2 separate regions of the Homo sapiens genome follow, and region 1 is linked to region 2. The links are contacts of gene promoters, found by promoter capture Hi-C in blood cells and fetal thymus (Javierre and others, 2016). All regions are on one chromosome and are shown on one strand. The core of a region is centred on a gene start or on the middle of the fragment in contact, and the rest is flanking DNA. Distances in the headings are between cores, read along the strand shown. Region 1 overlaps NLK (nemo like kinase). Region 2 holds the start of LYRM9 (LYR motif containing 9).

Region 1 (4,367 bases), core at 1,541-4,040, 270 kb after region 2:
ACCTGAAGCCAACTCCAGAGAAACAAAATGACCCTTAAAACCAAAGTAGATTGGGAAGACCAATAAACAGAGCCAGCTAAATTCTAGACAGCTCATTAAAGAGCACAGACTTGACTGAGAAAGGATTTGGGCCAACATTATTGACACTTCTTCTGGCCATCAAGTATGTCCATGAGAATTTTGCCATTACAAGTAGAGAATTGCTTAAACCTGAAACAGCTTTCTTACCTAGTAAGCAAAATACTTTCCCCCTGCCCCAGAATTCATAGAATTAAGAGATTCTTTATAGAGATTGAAAAATAAATGCCAAAAGGATGAAAACACATAAGCAATTTTTTTTTCAGACAGAGTCTTGCTCTGTCGCCTAGGCTAGAGTGCAGTGGTGCGATCTCAGCTCACTGCAAGATTCGCCTCCCAGGTTCACGCCATTCTCCTGCCTCAGCCTCCCAAGTAGCTGGGACTACAGGTGCCCGCCACCACGCCCAGCTAATTTTTTGTATTTTTAGTAGAGGCAGGGTTTCACCGTATTAGCCAGGATGATCTTGATCTCCCGACCTTGTGATCCTCCTGCCTCGGCCTCCCAAAGTGCTGGGATTACAGGCGTGAGCCACTGCGCCCAGCCACATAAGCAATATTAAAACTAAAAAACTCACCTCCAGGCCAGGCATGGTGATTCATGCCTGTAATCCCAGCGCTTTGGGATGCTGAGGCGGGCAGATCATCTGAGGTCAGGAATTCAAGACCAGCCTGGCCAACATGGCAAAACTCCATCTCTACTTTAAAAAAATACAAAACTTAGCTGGGCATGGTGGCACTCGCCTGTAGTCTCAGCTACTTGGGAGGCTGAGGCAGGAGAATCGAGTGAACCCAGGAGGTGGAGGCTGCAGGGAGCCAAGATCGCGTCACTGCACTCCATCCTGGGCAACAGAGTGAGACTCCGTCTCAAAAAAAACAAAAACGTTCACCTCTAAGATTTGTTCATATTCTATGGTAGGGGAAAATGGGGAAGATATTGGCTCTTTTTGTACTTGTGAAAAATGTGATTTGCTACATTTTATCCAAAAAAGACTCAGCCCATTAGCCGGATATGGTGGTACATGCCCGTAGTTCCCACTTCTCAGGAGGCTGAGATGGGAGCATGGCTTGAGCCAGGAAGGTCGAGGCTTCAGTGAGCTGTGATCATACCACCACACTCCTGCCTAGGTTACAGAGCGAGACCCTGTCTCAAAAAAAAAAAAGAAAAGAAAAAAAGAAAAACGCACACAAAAAGGACTCAACCTTGAGGCTGGGACCTTTAGCAGTACTGAATGAAGACACTGGTCTTCTAAGATTTCACAAATATTTTTAAAGTGGTTCATTACCCTCTTGATTCTGAGCGGTAAAGAATACTACTGACAGTGTGGGCAAGTTCCTGAATTTTGTTCTATCAGTGAAACATCTGTCCTGGGAAAGGCTCCCTGTAGTAATGGAAACTGTTTTGTTGGAGCAGGCTCCGAGTTGCAGGTTAAGAGTATCAATAGCAGCAGTCCAATAGCCACACTGACTAGCAATCTAAGGTTATTAGTATGGTCTTAACTCGAGTGCCTAAGAAGCTTATCTGTATTTAAACCTACATAATTGTTTAAATTATAGACATTATCTCTAGACTTTGCAAACCTTTGGTGACATTTTATTTTACTGTAGCAAAATTACGGTATTTTGAGGTGGGACTAGCTTTTAATAATGTTCATTATGCAGTTATTTAGGGAACAATTTTAAATCCTCTACTGTTTTCTTCCAAGGTTTTTTTTAAATTATTGGTTGAGTAAAAGGAATTAAATATCTGCAATTAAATCTGTTTGTTATTTCAGGTTTGAAATATCTCCATTCAGCTGGCATTTTACATCGAGACATTAAGCCAGGGAATCTCCTTGTGAACAGCAACTGTGTTCTAAAGGTAGCTTTTCAGTTTATTTAAATACCTGGGAAAAATCAGAATGTCAGGGCAGGTTTAAGAACAACATATTTTTGTGAAAGAAAGAAGTTCATTTCCATTACTTTACCAAAAGTTAACCCAGTTTTCTCCATATCACTACTCATAGCCATGGTAATAATTTGTAGTCCTGCCTCATGTTCTTTTCATGATATTTGGCCTATGTTTTAGAAACACTGAAATTGGAATTGTAGTGTAACTAGAAAGAAGAATAGACAAGGTGACTCCTTTACAGCTTGTTCCATTATTAAAAGAAGTGCATATCAGAAGAAATATTAGAACAGCAAGCATCTGTTTATATAAGAGAATGAAGTGTGACTTTTAGGAAGACCATTTACATTTTTACACAGCTAACATATCTATATGCTGTTTGACCAAGGTAGCAAAGTAAGAAGTAGAAACATATTTAAAAGGGATAGTGCTGGCCAGACACGGTGGCTCATGCCTGTAATTCCAGCATTTTGGGAGGCTGAGGCGGGCAGATTGCTTGAGCCCAGGAGTTCAAGACCAGCCTGGGCAATGCAGCAAAACCCCATCTCAATAAAAAATTCAAAAATTAGCTAGGTGTGGTTGCACATGCCTGTAGTTCCAGCTACTCAGAAGGCTGAGATGGGAGGATCACCTGAGCCCAGAGCGTGAAGGCTGCAGTGAGCTGTGATCACACCACTGCACTTCCACCTAGGTGACAGAGTGAGACCCTGTCTCAAAAAAAAAAAAAAAAAAAGTGAAAATGCCAAACCAGAAAAGGGTAATATGCATCTATCCAATGTATTTCCATAATGTATAGTAGCCAATTCTTAATTATTCCTCTGAAGAGGAATTGATTACAGAATTATATTTAGTAGTTCCAAAATTTCAAGTCATCAGTTTCAGTTTTACTTCTCTTCCCTAGTACAGCCATTGTCTTTCATTTAAAAAGGGGCTTGCAAATAGCAAAGTCCACATATTTGTATTTCCCTACCTCTAATACAGATGTGTATTGGCAGAACTCTTGAATAGAGAGAGGTCCACTATATTTTTCCTCATAATAGAAATTGGAAATAAGGGCCTTTAACTGCTATATTTGAAAAGAAAAATAAATTTTTAAAATGTTACCCACTTTAAAAGTAATCAAGACTATCATTATTACTTAGGTTGCTGGCGGTTAAACTAAGTAATAAAACCAAGTGTATAAATAAAATTCATTTTTTATTTTAAATGATTTCTCTGAACTGTAGGTCAGTTCTCTTGAAAAGCTGGTGGATTATACTGCTTATGAATGAAAATTCTCCCTTCATTATAGCCTTGAAGAACCCTCACCCTTATTTTAACTCAAGAAAGATGAAAACCTATTTTTCATATTTTCCCTAAAAATAGCTGATGTTGTAATTCAGTCTTTTGTTTCCACAGAGAAGTTAATTGCCACCAAAATCTACTAAAGTATTCCTTCTATAGGTTATTGAGTTTTTCCTGCCACCTTTTCACTTTTTAAAGAGAACTTGCAACCTATCCCCATAATCGTTTTTTAATTAAAAAAAAAATTTAAACCTTATAGTTAGAAATTTTTTTGTCCTATTCATACCTAATCAATCTTACGACAGTTTAAGCCAATTTCTTCTTATTTTGGTTTTTGATTGGAAGACTTCACACAGGATTTTGTGCAGGACCTGTCATGTTTGATGCCATTAACTGCTTGAAGTTCATTTTCCAAATTGTCCGTTATGGTTTTATAACCTTGGACTGTATGAATGGGCAACTAAAGGAAAATGCCATTTGTGAATACACAACACACAAATCAGAACAAACAAATTTTGCTCCACTCCTTTGACTCATCTTATGGGCCTACTTTTAAAAAGCCAGAATAGAGTCTAGGCTATAGACACTAGTTCTTTCTTCTCAAACATACAAATTCATTGAAGATCATTATAACAAAACATTTTTTAAAAATCAGTATCCTTCCATATCGTGAATGTATTTTGTTTCCTATTAAGCACAAGATGGATAATTTTGCTGGAATTTTTTTAGTTATCTGATCATGTAAGCTTCCTATTTTGGACTCAGGTTGTCTTCCAAATAAGTTGCTAAAAATGACGAAATCATACTGATGTTTTTAATAAGGGATTTGCTTTATAACAGAAGGCCTTTTTTTGTTGGATGGGTGGTTGGTTGGTTTTTCTCATATAAATATGAGAAAAAAATTATGTTCTTTCCTTTTGTTGGTTTGGTTTTTAAAAATATCCTCAAGAGTCATGGCCAAGTAATAGAGTTTTTAAAATATTATATGTTATTTTGGCCGGGCGCAGTGGCTCACGCCTGTAATCCCAGCACTGGGAGGCTGAGGTGGGCAGATCACTTGAGGCCAGGAACTTGAGACCAGCCTGGCCAACATGGCAAAACCCTGTCTCTACTAAAAATA
Region 2 (4,687 bases), core at 1,073-3,572:
GGACTATCCGAATACCTCCTGATCTGTCTCCCTCCTTCCAGCCCAATCCACATGGTGCCACCCAAGAACACTTCCTAAAAAGCACACCCTGTCACTCCCCTTCCTCAGAACCTCTGTAGAGAGTTCTCTACCCATGGCCTTCTGAGATCTGTTTCAATCCCTCTCATCAGTCTCCCCTCCTGCTGTCCTTCCCACACTTCCTGCATTTTAGCCACAGACTGAACTTGGAGGACTCTGGGATCAGACAGTCTGGGTTCAAATCCTGGTTCTATCACCTGCTAGTTCTAGGACCCTGGACGAGTTTCTTAACTTCTATCTCGAAGTCTGTTCCCCATCTGTCAATGCGGTCCCTAATAAATAGTATTTCCTACATAGGACTGTTGTAAGGATGAAATAACGCTCCTAGACTACTAAGCATGATGCCTGGCACACACTACATGTTTCCTACTAACTGTTATTGTTAATACCATCTCTGAAACATGCTGTGCTTTCCCCTACCTTGACTTCTTCACCTGCCTCAAGAATTCCCCTTCATCCTTAGAGATCCAGTTCCCTGTCACCTCCTTCAGGCTTTCATCCCATGCTGTTCACACCCCTATTACAGTCATCACACTGCTCTGTAATCACTTATTGTGATTATAATCGATGTGACAGAACTTAGAGCAGGTTTTGGAGACAAAGAACCCTAGTTTAAAAGCCTACCTCTGCTATCTACTAGCTGTGTAATCCTGGCCAACCTGGTTGACTTCTCTGGACTTCTGCTTCCCCCACTGTAAACTGGAGAAAAGAATAACCCACCTCACAGGGGTTTTGTAAAGACCAACCTAGCTAACTTATGGAAAGTGCCTAGCACAGGGGCTGGCACATCTTAAGTGCTTGAACATCTTTTTTTTTTTTTTTTTGTCCTGAGACAGGGTCTCACTCTGTCACCCAGGCTGGAGTACAGTAGCATGATCAGGGATCACTGCAGTCACAACTGCCCGGGCTCAAACGATTCTACCTCAGCCTCTCAAGTGGCCGGGATCACAGGCACACGCCACCACGTCTGGCTAATTTTTTTAATTATTTATAGAAACGAAGTCTTACTATGTTGCCCAGGCTGGTCTCAAAATTCTAGGCTCAAGTGATCCTCTTTCCTCAGCCTCCTACGGTGCTGAGATTATGGGCATGAGCCACTGCGCCCAGCGTTGAACATCTTACCCTTTCCTACTTTATTTGGCTTTCTGTTCCTTGCTGACTGTAAGCTTCTGAAGAACAAGAAACTATACTGTATTAGTTCAACACCTGTGAAATGAAGGGAAATTAGTAAGAAAAATATATATACGGTTATTAGTCACTCCTCCACAGTTTATAGTACCTGAACCATAACAGAAGTTCCATAGATGTCAATTGATTCCCAAGTTACCAGAGGAAACTAAAGCCAGCAGGAAACTGTCCTGAAGTCAAGAACCTATGGCAGGTGAACCCAGAAAACATTACGCTAAGTGAACAAACCCAGTCACAAGGGGCTACTTAATGTATGATTCCATTTATACGAAACATCCAGAATAGGCAAAAGTACAGAGACAGAAGTACATTGGTGGTTGCCTAGGGCTGGGAGAATGGGAGTAGATGGGAGGGGGGAGTGACAGCTAAAGGAGGTGTTTCTTTTGGGGGGTAATGTTCTAAAACATTATGGTGACAGCTGCACAACTCTGCAAACACACTAAAAGACACTGAATTGTGCACTTTAGATGGGTGAACTGTATGCTTCGTGAATTATATCTCAATAAAACTTTTTAAAACAATAACCACAAAAAGGATCAATCCTAGGAGCGAAAGGGTTTTGGCCACGGAGCAACTTGCTCTTACGCAGAAGCATAAATCATCACGACAAGGTTGCTCCGGCCACCGGGTGCCGCGGGCAGAGGGACGGTGGAGGGGACATTCTCCTTTTAAAAGTGGCCAGGCCCGTGAGCCTCTGAGAGGCTGGCCTCCGGGCTGCCCCGGACCTCGCGCCCCTAGCTCGCGCTGCAGGCCTTTCCTGCTCCTCCGAGGCCGCCCGGCCAGGCCTGCGTCAAGCCCGGGCGCCGCGCTCCGGTGCACTCAGCTCTCCGGTGGAAGAGCGCAGACCGCAAGGGAAAAGGTGCCGGCGCGGGTCGCCCCTAGGTCTTCAATAGATCCGAGGACACCCGAGGCCTCCACATCCCTAGCCCGCCCCCGCCACCCAGTGGCTCCGGCCGCCGCTGCCCCCGCGCCCCCGCCCTCGGCCTCGGCCTGCGCAGCGCGGCTCACCAGCCTCCAGGGGAACGCCAGCCCCGGACGCCGCCGCGGCGACGAGTGCGCCTGCGCCCCGGGGACTGAGCGGCACCGCCCCTGCCCGGCGACGGTGAGCCCAGCGCCCTCTGCCGGCCGCGCGCGGGACTCGGGGTCCTACTGGGTGCCTCTTCCTAGATCCGACCCCACCCAGTTGAAAGCTGTCCCCACTAACAGCCTTCGTTACCTGTTACCTCAAACACCCACTCTGCCTTCTGGCTGTTGCTACGCCGGATATAAGCCCTAAAGGCACTCTCTCCTCCTTATTCCTGAATATGGATTGTGCTATGAATATGGGGTGTTCAAGATCTCTGAAAGGCTTGCTGGAGGACTTTTCCTGAACCTCTCGTGTTGATGACAAGAATTGTGTTTGGATAGGAATCTGCGTTTTGAATCATTTCACCAAATTACAGTCCCATAACACCTGTCAAAAGAATAAATATGACAGTAATAAGCATGCTTCCTTTCAGACCCATCTATAATTATAATTGAGGAAAATAATACAAAATTTAAACTTAGAGCTACTGCCAGTATCATTCTTTGAAAATGAAATAATGCTGTTTATTAAATAGGCTCTCCCTGCTCTCTAATGTTTAAAGCTCAAGTGCTTCTCTGAATTGATTTAAATACAAGTTTTATATCCTGAAAGAAATCAAGATGAGTCATTATCTTAAGACAAACCCCCCTGTTCAATGATGCTGCTGATCTCTCAGCTGATGTCTAAGCGGGAGTTAGGTTGTTAGTGGATAATATTGCTTCTGTTCACGTCTCTCTTCTCCAGGGCTTTTTAAACCTGTTTGTAACGAAAAGGCTGATTTCCTTCAGACTCCATGTGTCGTTGATTTAACAGGACAACTTCTTACAGGTTTTTCTTTTTCCTTTTTCTTTTTTTTTTTTTAAGTAAAACATTGCTCCCCGGTGGCACCTGGGAATCTGTTTTTCTTCTCTTAGGATAAGAGAAGCAGGGATATTTCTTAACGGAAGTTTTGTTTTGTTCCTAACTCCCTTTAGAGCTTCCTCTTTTCTTTTTTTTTCTCTTCACCTAACATACTAGACTTCCCTCAAATCGGGGGTGGGGGATGGGAAGGTGGGGTTCCCTCCCTTGAAATATTCAGATAATTGCTTCCATTTATTTTAAAGATGTAGACTTGGACAAATATATCTGAAAGATACAATTGTACCCTCATAAATCAGCCCTCTTATTTACACATGCATAATCAAGGGCACGTCATTAATGCAGAGCCAATCAATAAATCATTAAGCTTTTAAAGCCCTTATTAAGAACAATCTGCAGTAACATCATCCACTCCTGTGCTCAGTCTTAGGATCATTTAATAATTTTAAGAAATTTCACAGTCTGTTCTGTAGTCTCATCTCCCTTTTGTTCCTAGATAGCTGTATTCCTGCATCAGAAACATGGTTCTAATACCTAGATCTCATAAAATATTGAAGATGCAAGCTGTTTGCTTTACCTCTGAAAGGCTCCACCTTCAGAATCACTTGTGCCTCTTCCAATTTTACAAACGCACAAGATTTTAACTTTCACAACAATTTCTTATAAACATCCAAATACTAAGAAAAAAAAATCCAAAGTAGGAGAGATTTGAACAATAATCTCTAATTTTTTTTCCAAGTCACAATGGAAACCTAGATTTGAAAATAATTGAATTTGAACCTTTCAACTTGACAGCAACCTTAGGTTCTTACAGCTTCAATAGTAAAATGAAATAATTTTTACTAGTCCAAACATTCACTTAAAATGACACCAGTCTCATAATCTGATAAAACCCCAACCATTTTTACCATGTCATTTTCCTATACACTGAAATTTTAGCAGATGAACCCCCTTATGTCAGACAGTGCATGATATTTACAGATAAACAAAATAGAAAGACCTTTTACTTGAGAAATTAGTCACCCACTGTCCAGGGGACATGTTCGCACAGGGGAGTTTATTGACTTTCCTAAGAAATACACCACATTCTCTTGATTTCTGACATTATGTCATTTAGCCTGACAACTGCAGATTTGTAACCAGTATTTGTAGGGAAAGATACAAGAAGTCCTGACGTTTCCAGTTTAAACCTGTTTTTAGATTTCAAAGAGAAATGATAACGTTTGCATCCTCTGATTAAATCAGGTTATTGTCTCCAAGGGTGACCATGTAAATAATTCAAATTAATTCATCAGTGTACAATAGGTTTAATAAGCATAATAAACACTTTTAAGAAAATACTTAAGACCCTCGGTCTGCCCTCGATCTTGCTCCCTATTATCTCAGATTTCCCTGAGAACAGAATGAGTGGTACCACGTTGTTCTCTTCTATTCAAAATATGCAAAGCTGCTATTTACCAGCTTGCAATTTGCATGTCTCAAATCCTGCCAGAACAC

What was found. The method cuts DNA at HindIII sites, captures the fragments that hold promoters and counts their contacts. A CHiCAGO score of 5 or more calls a contact.
Region 1: a contact is called between a fragment that was not itself captured here and the fragment with the promoter of LYRM9 in region 2, in 6 of 17 cell types (M2 macrophages, megakaryocytes, M1 macrophages and 3 more). The highest score is 11.4, in M2 macrophages.

What each region holds. Positions count from the first base shown.
Region 1 is chr17:28,161,693-28,166,059 of GRCh38, forward strand. It overlaps NLK (nemo like kinase), which reads left to right. Exons shown (of 11, transcript NM_016231.5): 5 at 1,851-1,936. Among named protein-coding and RNA genes, the nearest start is that of NLK, 120 kb to the left of the region's middle. The HindIII fragment of the contact is 2,401 bases long and covers 1,591-3,991 here.
Region 2 is chr17:27,891,043-27,895,729 of GRCh38, forward strand. LYRM9 (LYR motif containing 9) reads right to left here and starts at 2,323. Exons shown (of 4, transcript NM_001076680.3): 1 at 2,275-2,323. RefSeq lists a silencer at 1,955-2,504. The HindIII fragment of the contact is 2,313 bases long and covers 1,243-3,555 here.